Regions from separate parts of the Homo sapiens genome. Here region 1 is linked to region 2. The links are contacts of gene promoters, found by promoter capture Hi-C in blood cells and fetal thymus (Javierre and others, 2016). All regions are on one chromosome and are shown on one strand. Each heading gives the region's core, a stretch centred on a gene start or on the middle of the fragment in contact. The rest is flanking DNA. Distances are from core to core; before and after follow the strand shown. Region 1 overlaps CES3 (carboxylesterase 3). Region 2 holds the start of TMEM208 (transmembrane protein 208).

What was found. Contacts are between HindIII fragments. The CHiCAGO score rates a contact against its expected background, and 5 or more counts as called.
Region 1: a fragment that was not itself captured here is called in contact with the fragment with the promoter of TMEM208 in region 2 in 11 of 17 cell types (M2 macrophages, naive CD4 T cells, activated CD4 T cells and 8 more); the score reaches 9.4 in M2 macrophages.

The regions. Positions count from the first base shown.
Region 1 is chr16:66,963,666-66,967,270 of GRCh38, forward strand. CES3 (carboxylesterase 3) reads left to right here. Exons shown (of 13, transcript NM_024922.6): 4 at 137-270; 5 at 692-845; 6 at 958-1,062; 7 at 2,579-2,680; 8 at 3,060-3,200. Among named protein-coding and RNA genes, the nearest start is that of CES3, 4.2 kb to the left of the region's middle. RefSeq lists an enhancer at 73-990. The HindIII fragment of the contact is 7,346 bases long and covers 1-3,605 here.
Region 2 is chr16:67,225,298-67,228,730 of GRCh38, forward strand. TMEM208 (transmembrane protein 208) reads left to right here and starts at 1,833. Exons shown (of 6, transcript NM_014187.4): 1 at 1,833-1,927; 2 at 2,539-2,634; 3 at 3,058-3,117; 4 at 3,198-3,334. The coding sequence starts at 1,922. It also overlaps the pseudogene FBXL9P. RefSeq lists an enhancer at 1,636-1,985. The HindIII fragment of the contact is 11,037 bases long and covers 294-3,433 here.

The sequences.
Region 1 (3,605 bases), core at 38-2,537, 260 kb before region 2:
CTCCACTATGCCTACCTGTCCCCTCCCCGTCCCTGTTTCCAAAGCACCCTAGCGGTCCTGAGACTGCCTGGGCTGGCAGGTGGGCAGCTAAGGTCTCAGGAGCTTGGGGGTCAGTGCCCCATGGCCACCTCTGCAGGTCATGGTATGGGTCCATGGAGGCGCTCTGATAACTGGCGCTGCCACCTCCTACGATGGATCAGCTCTGGCTGCCTATGGGGATGTGGTCGTGGTTACAGTCCAGTACCGCCTTGGGGTCCTTGGCTTCTTCAGGTGAGACGACAGGCATGGCCAGAGCACTGCCTGCACCGGGGAGAGGCCAGCTCACCAGAGCAACTGGGGATCTAGGTTGGGGTCCGGAACCTGAAGGGAGGGCCCCTTACCCATGATGTCTGAGGCAGAGAAGGGCACCCCCCAAGCCTCCACCCTGGGAGAGGGGTCCAGCCAAAGCCAGAATTATACAGTGAACTTGGTCCCTTGGGCAGAGGGCATTGATTCCTGGGCTGAAGCCCAGGTTCCAGCAGGATATGGGACAAAGAGCAACAGGCTGTGGAGATGCCAACCACGGCTCCCAGACAGGCCAGACCTGGGGAGCAGAGAAGGGTCTGGCATCCTGGTGGCTAATTCAAAGCAAACCTGCAGAGGCTGGCGAGGAGCCAGGCTGAACTAACCGTTGCCCCAACACTGCCCCCAGCACTGGAGATGAGCATGCACCTGGCAACCAGGGCTTCCTAGATGTGGTAGCTGCTTTGCGCTGGGTGCAAGAAAACATCGCCCCCTTCGGGGGTGACCTCAACTGTGTCACTGTCTTTGGTGGATCTGCCGGTGGGAGCATCATCTCTGGCCTGGTAAGTCACTATAGGGGGCTAGTGATGGTGGCCAGGAGGGCTCCGGTGGTCTCAGAACTCCCAGCTCCTCTGCCCTCCTCTGACAGCCACCTCCTCTCTCCAATGCACCCAGGTCCTGTCCCCAGTGGCTGCAGGGCTGTTCCACAGAGCCATCACACAGAGTGGGGTCATCACCACCCCAGGGATCATCGACTCTCACCCTTGGCCCCTAGCTCAGGTCTGTATTTCCTTCCCTCTCTTACTCTATGTGTGCCTCCCATACCCCACTCTGTGCTGGCCCTGGGGTCTCAGAGTAGCGGGGTTTGCTGGCAGGGAGCTCCCTGTTAGCAAAGAGAAGCCCAATAAGACGAAGGAGCATCAGAGGAAACAACTGCTGCATTCCAGCATATTGGCACTCAGGGAGGGCTTCCTGAAGGAAGCCACCCTGAAGCATATCATTGTTGGCCCTTTCTCCAGGGTGGGGTCTTCAGGAGCACCCCTCTCTGCCCCAGGCAGCATGGTGGAGGGGGTCTCCATTGCCAGCCACCTGCTGCCTGCGAGCTCTCCATTCAGGCTCCAGATCCCCACCCTAGATCCTCATTGTAAGGCCTTGTGAAGAAAATCCAGGGGAAGCCACAGTGGGAACTGCATCTGCAAAGGCTGCAGGTGTGGGAGAGAGTGACAGGTCCTGCAGGAGCAAGCTCGCAGGTTAGGGAACAGGGCAGGAAGTGAAGGTGCTGGAGAAGTGGGGGCCATGCCTGGGAATCTGGACTTTCTCCAGAGGGCAGGAAGAAGTTGGGCAATGACAAGGTTGAGCTACCTGGAGTAGAAGGTGGGTTGGAGGGAGCCGTCCTGAAGATCAAGACACCAGTGAAATGACCAGGGCAGAGTCCAGGAGAAAGAGACAGGATGGAATAGGGATAGAGCCATCGGGGAGAGAGGGGGCAAATGTGAGCAGGATTTGGAAGACTGGGTCAATTCCCTCACCTGGCCCCAGATGGTGGCCAAGGCAGTGTGGGCTGGGCATTTTAACCACTGTGTACAAGATGATTCTGGAACCTCTGCGTGGGCATGTTGACTCTTGTATGGACAACAGCATCCTCCTCTCAACCTCCCCATCCCATCCTCTCCCCATGGCCAGGAGAGATTTTCTCAACCACAGACTTGAGGTCATTCCCTGTCTCTCCTGTGTCCAAAGAAAAACACAGCTCAAGGCTGAGGTTGGCGGATCACAAAGTCAGGAGATCAAGGTGATCCTGGCTAACATGGTGAAACCCCATCTCTACTAAAAATACAAAAAATTAGCCGGGCATGGTGGCAGGTGCCTGTAGTCCCAGCTACTCAGGAGGCTGAGGCAGAAGAATGGTGTGAACCCGGGACGCAGAGCTTGCGGTGAGCCAAGATCATGCCACTGCACTCCAGCCTGGGCGACAGAGCGAGAGTCTGTCTCAAAAAAATAATAATAAAAGATAATGACACTATTCTTAGAGGGCAATGAGGACTCAGTGCCCCCATTCCCCCAGATAATAAAATTATGGTATAATAGGGGACGCAAGGGGGCCCTTGGGACCACCCAAGCTGACGGGCAGGGCAGGCTTCTCAGGAGTGGTGACAAGTCTGTGACCAGTCTCGAGGCCGATCTGTGACATCACATCCAGCTGTCCTACAGATGCACCCTCTCTGTGGGAGGCAGAAGGCTGCAAGGTGGGGCTGAGTGGCTGAGAGGGAGGCATGACTCTTTCATTTGTCCCCAGAAAATCGCAAACACCTTGGCCTGCAGCTCCAGCTCCCCGGCTGAGATGGTGCAGTGCCTTCAGCAGAAAGAAGGAGAAGAGCTGGTCCTTAGCAAGAAGCTGGTATGGCCACCCTTTTGGGGATGGTGCCGGGCAATGGCACAGAGGGGGTTCTATCCATCCCCTGCAGGAGCAGAGGGGCAGTCTACCCCCAGGTGGGGCTGGGGACAGCAGCTCATGAGGGGAAGGGGCTGAGGGCTTGGAGACAGAAATGGAGGGCCATCTCCATCCCCACAGCAGGCCTGTCTTCTAGGAAAGAAACTGGACGCATCTGTTGCCCTGATCTCCTGGTTCCCCCGACCCCCTTAACCCTGGTGATCTTCATCCCTTCACTTTCCCTCCAGGCTCAGACACTCAGGCCTGCAGCTCAGTGGCTGCTGGGGTCCTAGCCTTTGAGGCTTGGCCCTAACTTGGGAGCCTCCTGCATTGCTTTCTCCTGCAGAAAAATACTATCTATCCTCTCACCGTTGATGGCACTGTCTTCCCCAAAAGCCCCAAGGAACTCCTGAAGGAGAAGCCCTTCCACTCTGTGCCCTTCCTCATGGGTGTCAACAACCATGAGTTCAGCTGGCTCATCCCCAGGGTGAGTTGCTCCCACCCCTGTGCCCTTCAAGGCCCTGCCCCAGCCAGTACCTGCCACCCCAGCATCAACACTACAGCCTTGTGAACGGAGCACTCCCGTTACTCCCATTTGATAAGTGAGAAAGCAGAGGCCCAGAAAGGTTTGAGGGACTTGCCCAAGGTCACCCAGCTTTGTTTTGTTGTGTTGTTGTTTTGCTTTTTTTTTTCTGTTTTTGTTTGTTTGTTTGTTTGTTTTTGAGACAGAGTCTCGCTCTGTCACCCAGGCTGGAGTGCAGTGGTGCGATCTCAGCTCACTTCAACCTCCACCTCCTGGGTTCAAGAGTTTCTCCTGCCTCAGCCTCCCAAGCAGCTGGGATTACAGGCACATGCCACCACACCCAGCTTTCACCACGTTGGCCAGGCTGGT
Region 2 (3,433 bases), core at 583-3,082:
TGAACTCTTTGCCTCCAAGTTCATCCTTGCTAATACATTATGCACACTGTCACAAGGTTAATTTTTCCTATAAAACAGTTTTCAGTTTCAGCTCACCCCTGCTGTAAAACTTCAGGGTTCACAGTACTCTCAGGACAGTCTCCACTCCTGGATCAGCACTGCCAGGCCTCTGTGCCTGATTGGACTCGCTGGTCCCCAAACTTCCCCAGTCCAGTCTCCCCATTGCCCTACGCACACAGCATGTCTATTTCCTTTTGCCTATGCGGGCCTTTTCCCTGGGATCCCCTTCTTGAAGCTTAACTTCACCAACCCATTGTGATCTCTCCTTCCTTTCTCAGATGCCAAGCACGCAGGCACAGTGCTCAGCCAGTGCTTACTGGATTAAATTAAGGTTGGACAGTCCAGTCCTCTACCTCTATTTTCACCAAGAGTATGCTCAGGGAAGGGGTCGGGGAAATAAAGCAGTCATTACTGAGAGGACAATGACTGGCAGAATAGACTTCTGGGCCAGGAAGGGAGGCATAGGGAAGACAGTATTGATGGGGACTGGGACTGACCAAGTCCCAATCCCTCCAGGGAGGCACGGAAGCCTGTTTGAGCTGAGTTAAGACAGTGGCCATCCTGTCTTCTGGGGCTAAGCAGCCAGCCCAAGAGCAAAGGGAGAGGGGAACAAACCTGTCATCCCTTGGGGTGAGTCGGGAAGGGACACAATTCATTGACCTAAGAAGAGGGTGGCCTTTCTAGAGGGACAAGAGGAGGCAGTGATGAGGATGGAGTGACCATCCCATGAGTCCCATCTCAAGGGGGCTACTGGAGATAATGATTGGTCACTCATGGGGTCTATGGGGATGGAAATAGATAGCCCCTAAAGCTAAGGGGGAAAGGGATAGCACTGCAAGCTCAATAGGGGTGGGAACAGGCCTATTTTTGCTAAGGACAGGAGCATCATTCCAGGACCGATGGGAAAGGGTGGCCTGTTTCCCATGGGCAGAGAGAGGGGGCTGCCAACCCTCAGGACAAAAGAGATGGAGAAGCCATTCCAACAGGCCACTGAAGACAAAACCTGTTATCTCCCTGGCAGATGGGGCAGAGTGGTCTTGCCCCTGGCTAAGGGGAAGGAGCAAACATCCCACGGAGTGAAAGAGGTAAGGGCGGCCATCACTAGGGGCCTAGGAATGGGGAACAGGCCTATCCTTGTTAAAGGAACTCAGAGATCATTGCAGTTGATGGGGAGGGAGCAGTCTGTTTCCCACTGCCAGGGAGAAGGGGCGGCCGTCTCTGTAGGAAATGGAGAGATCATCCCAAGGGACCAATGGGGATAAGATCAGTTACCCTTCGGGACGATGAGATGGAGCGGACATCTTCCAGAACTGAGCGGGGAGGAGACAGCCACTTCAAGGGAAGGGGATGGGCAGAGGGCCTGTTCTCGCGGAGATGACAGGGCAGCTATCTTCTGGGGCCGATAGGGAAGGGGAGGACGGTCCCCCAAGCTAAAGGGACAGAGTGGCCCAAAGGAGGAACCGTTACCCAGAGCTAGAAGGTCCCGGGATCGGGAGGGCGGGTCGTTTCCGCCAGGCTGGAGGGGCCGGGCTAGCTATCTGACAGCCCCTCCCCAAAGCTCAGGACCGCGAGGGCGGGGCCTGTCCAGAGCTAGGCCTGAGGGCGGCTTCCTCTCACCTCCAGGGGCAGCGACTCCGCCATCGCATCCCTGCCGCCTCCGCCCCCACTGCGCAAGGCTTTCTGGGAAATGTAGTCTCGCCTCTTTGGGGCGGGGCTTGGGAAGGAAGTGAGACCTATTTCCGTCGCAAAAGCTGACGACTTCGGTCTGCGCCGGAAGTGCATGAGCTGCCGATGTGGTGCTTAGTGATTGCGGTTTCGGTCGCTCTCCCGTGTTTCCCGGGCTGGGTATTTGCCTCGCACCATGGCGGTAAGGAGGATGGATAGGGCGGGGTCCGCACCAGCAAAGCTCTCCAGGGGCTGTGAGAGTGAAAACTGAGAAAGAACATTAAGGGATATGGGGTGGGCCAGAGCGGGGCGCCATCCCTGGCCAGACCGTGCTAGAGCTGGGCTGGGGGGATGGCGGCGCAGGACCATACCAGGACTAGTGCCAGAGCGGGGTGGGCATCAGTACCAGGGCAGGCCAGAGATCTAAGTGACCTGAGGTGGGGGTTAACCCAGATCGGGACTACGCCAGCGGAGGCCTGAGAGAGGCACCATTCAACTCCGCTCAGGAGTACCCTTGGAAGAGTCGTTAGCCTAAAGCCAGACTACCACGGGATCCAGAGGCGGTATTAGCTTAGGATTGAATTGTTCCAGGGCGAGCAAGAGGCGATTGATCCTAGCTGCGGGTGCTGGAGAGATGGCGTCAGCCCTAGGCAGAATGGACTGGAGGATGGGTGGACATCCCAGGGATTTTGCTAGGTTTCTGCACTACGGGGACCTGGCTGAGTTGCGGATGGAGCTCTATAGCTCACCAGGCTGGTGGGGAGAATGAGGAGGACCGTGGCCTCCTGACGGCATCTCATCATTCCTCTGCAGCCCAAGGGCAAAGTGGGCACGAGAGGGAAGAAGCAGATATTTGAAGAGAACAGAGAGACTCTGAAGTTCTACCTGCGGATCATACTGGGGGCCAATGTAAGTGCCTACCTCCTTGCTTCTATGCCCACTTATAGTCAGTTCCCTAGTCCTCAGCCCTGCTTGGTGACGAGGAGTGGTACCCGAAAAAGCTCTAGAAGAGAGCTCCAGTCAAAAAGAAATGAGAGATCTGGGCACAGAGAAAGTGCTAACTAGTAAAACACAAAGAAAATGAAGGCGTGAGTCGTAGCTGAATTTGAGAGCTCTTCCTACCTCCAAGTACACAAAGGCTTCTTTCCTGGGCTGAGTTGGGTGTCAGAGGAGAGTGGGTATTTGGGATTCAGGGAGCAGGGCCCTTTCTTCAACCCTGTAAGAACAACCTTGCTCCTCCCACAGCCTGGCCTAATTCTTGGTCAGAGTTGAGGGAGACCCATGGTTTGGAGGTAACTTCTGACCCCAACCTGATCCTGTGATTGCTTGCAGGCCATTTACTGCCTTGTGACGTTGGTCTTCTTTTACTCATCTGCCTCATTTTGGGCCTGGGTAAGTATCTCCATCCTGGGAGGTGGATGAGTGCGTAGGGTCAGTGGCTGGCCTTTGATACCCTCATTCTTGCTCTGCAGTTGGCCCTGGGCTTTAGTCTGGCAGTGTATGGGGCCAGCTACCACTCTATGAGCTCGATGGCACGAGCAGCGTTCTCTGAGGATGGGGCCCTGATGGATGGTGGCATGGACCTCAACATGGAGCAGGGCATGGCAGAGTGAGTGTCCCCCACCGCCAGCCCAGGTGAGCGGCCCCAGGGCTGGGGCCCAGATAGCCCAAGAAGCACAGCTACTTGTAACTTGAAAAGGGTGGAAGG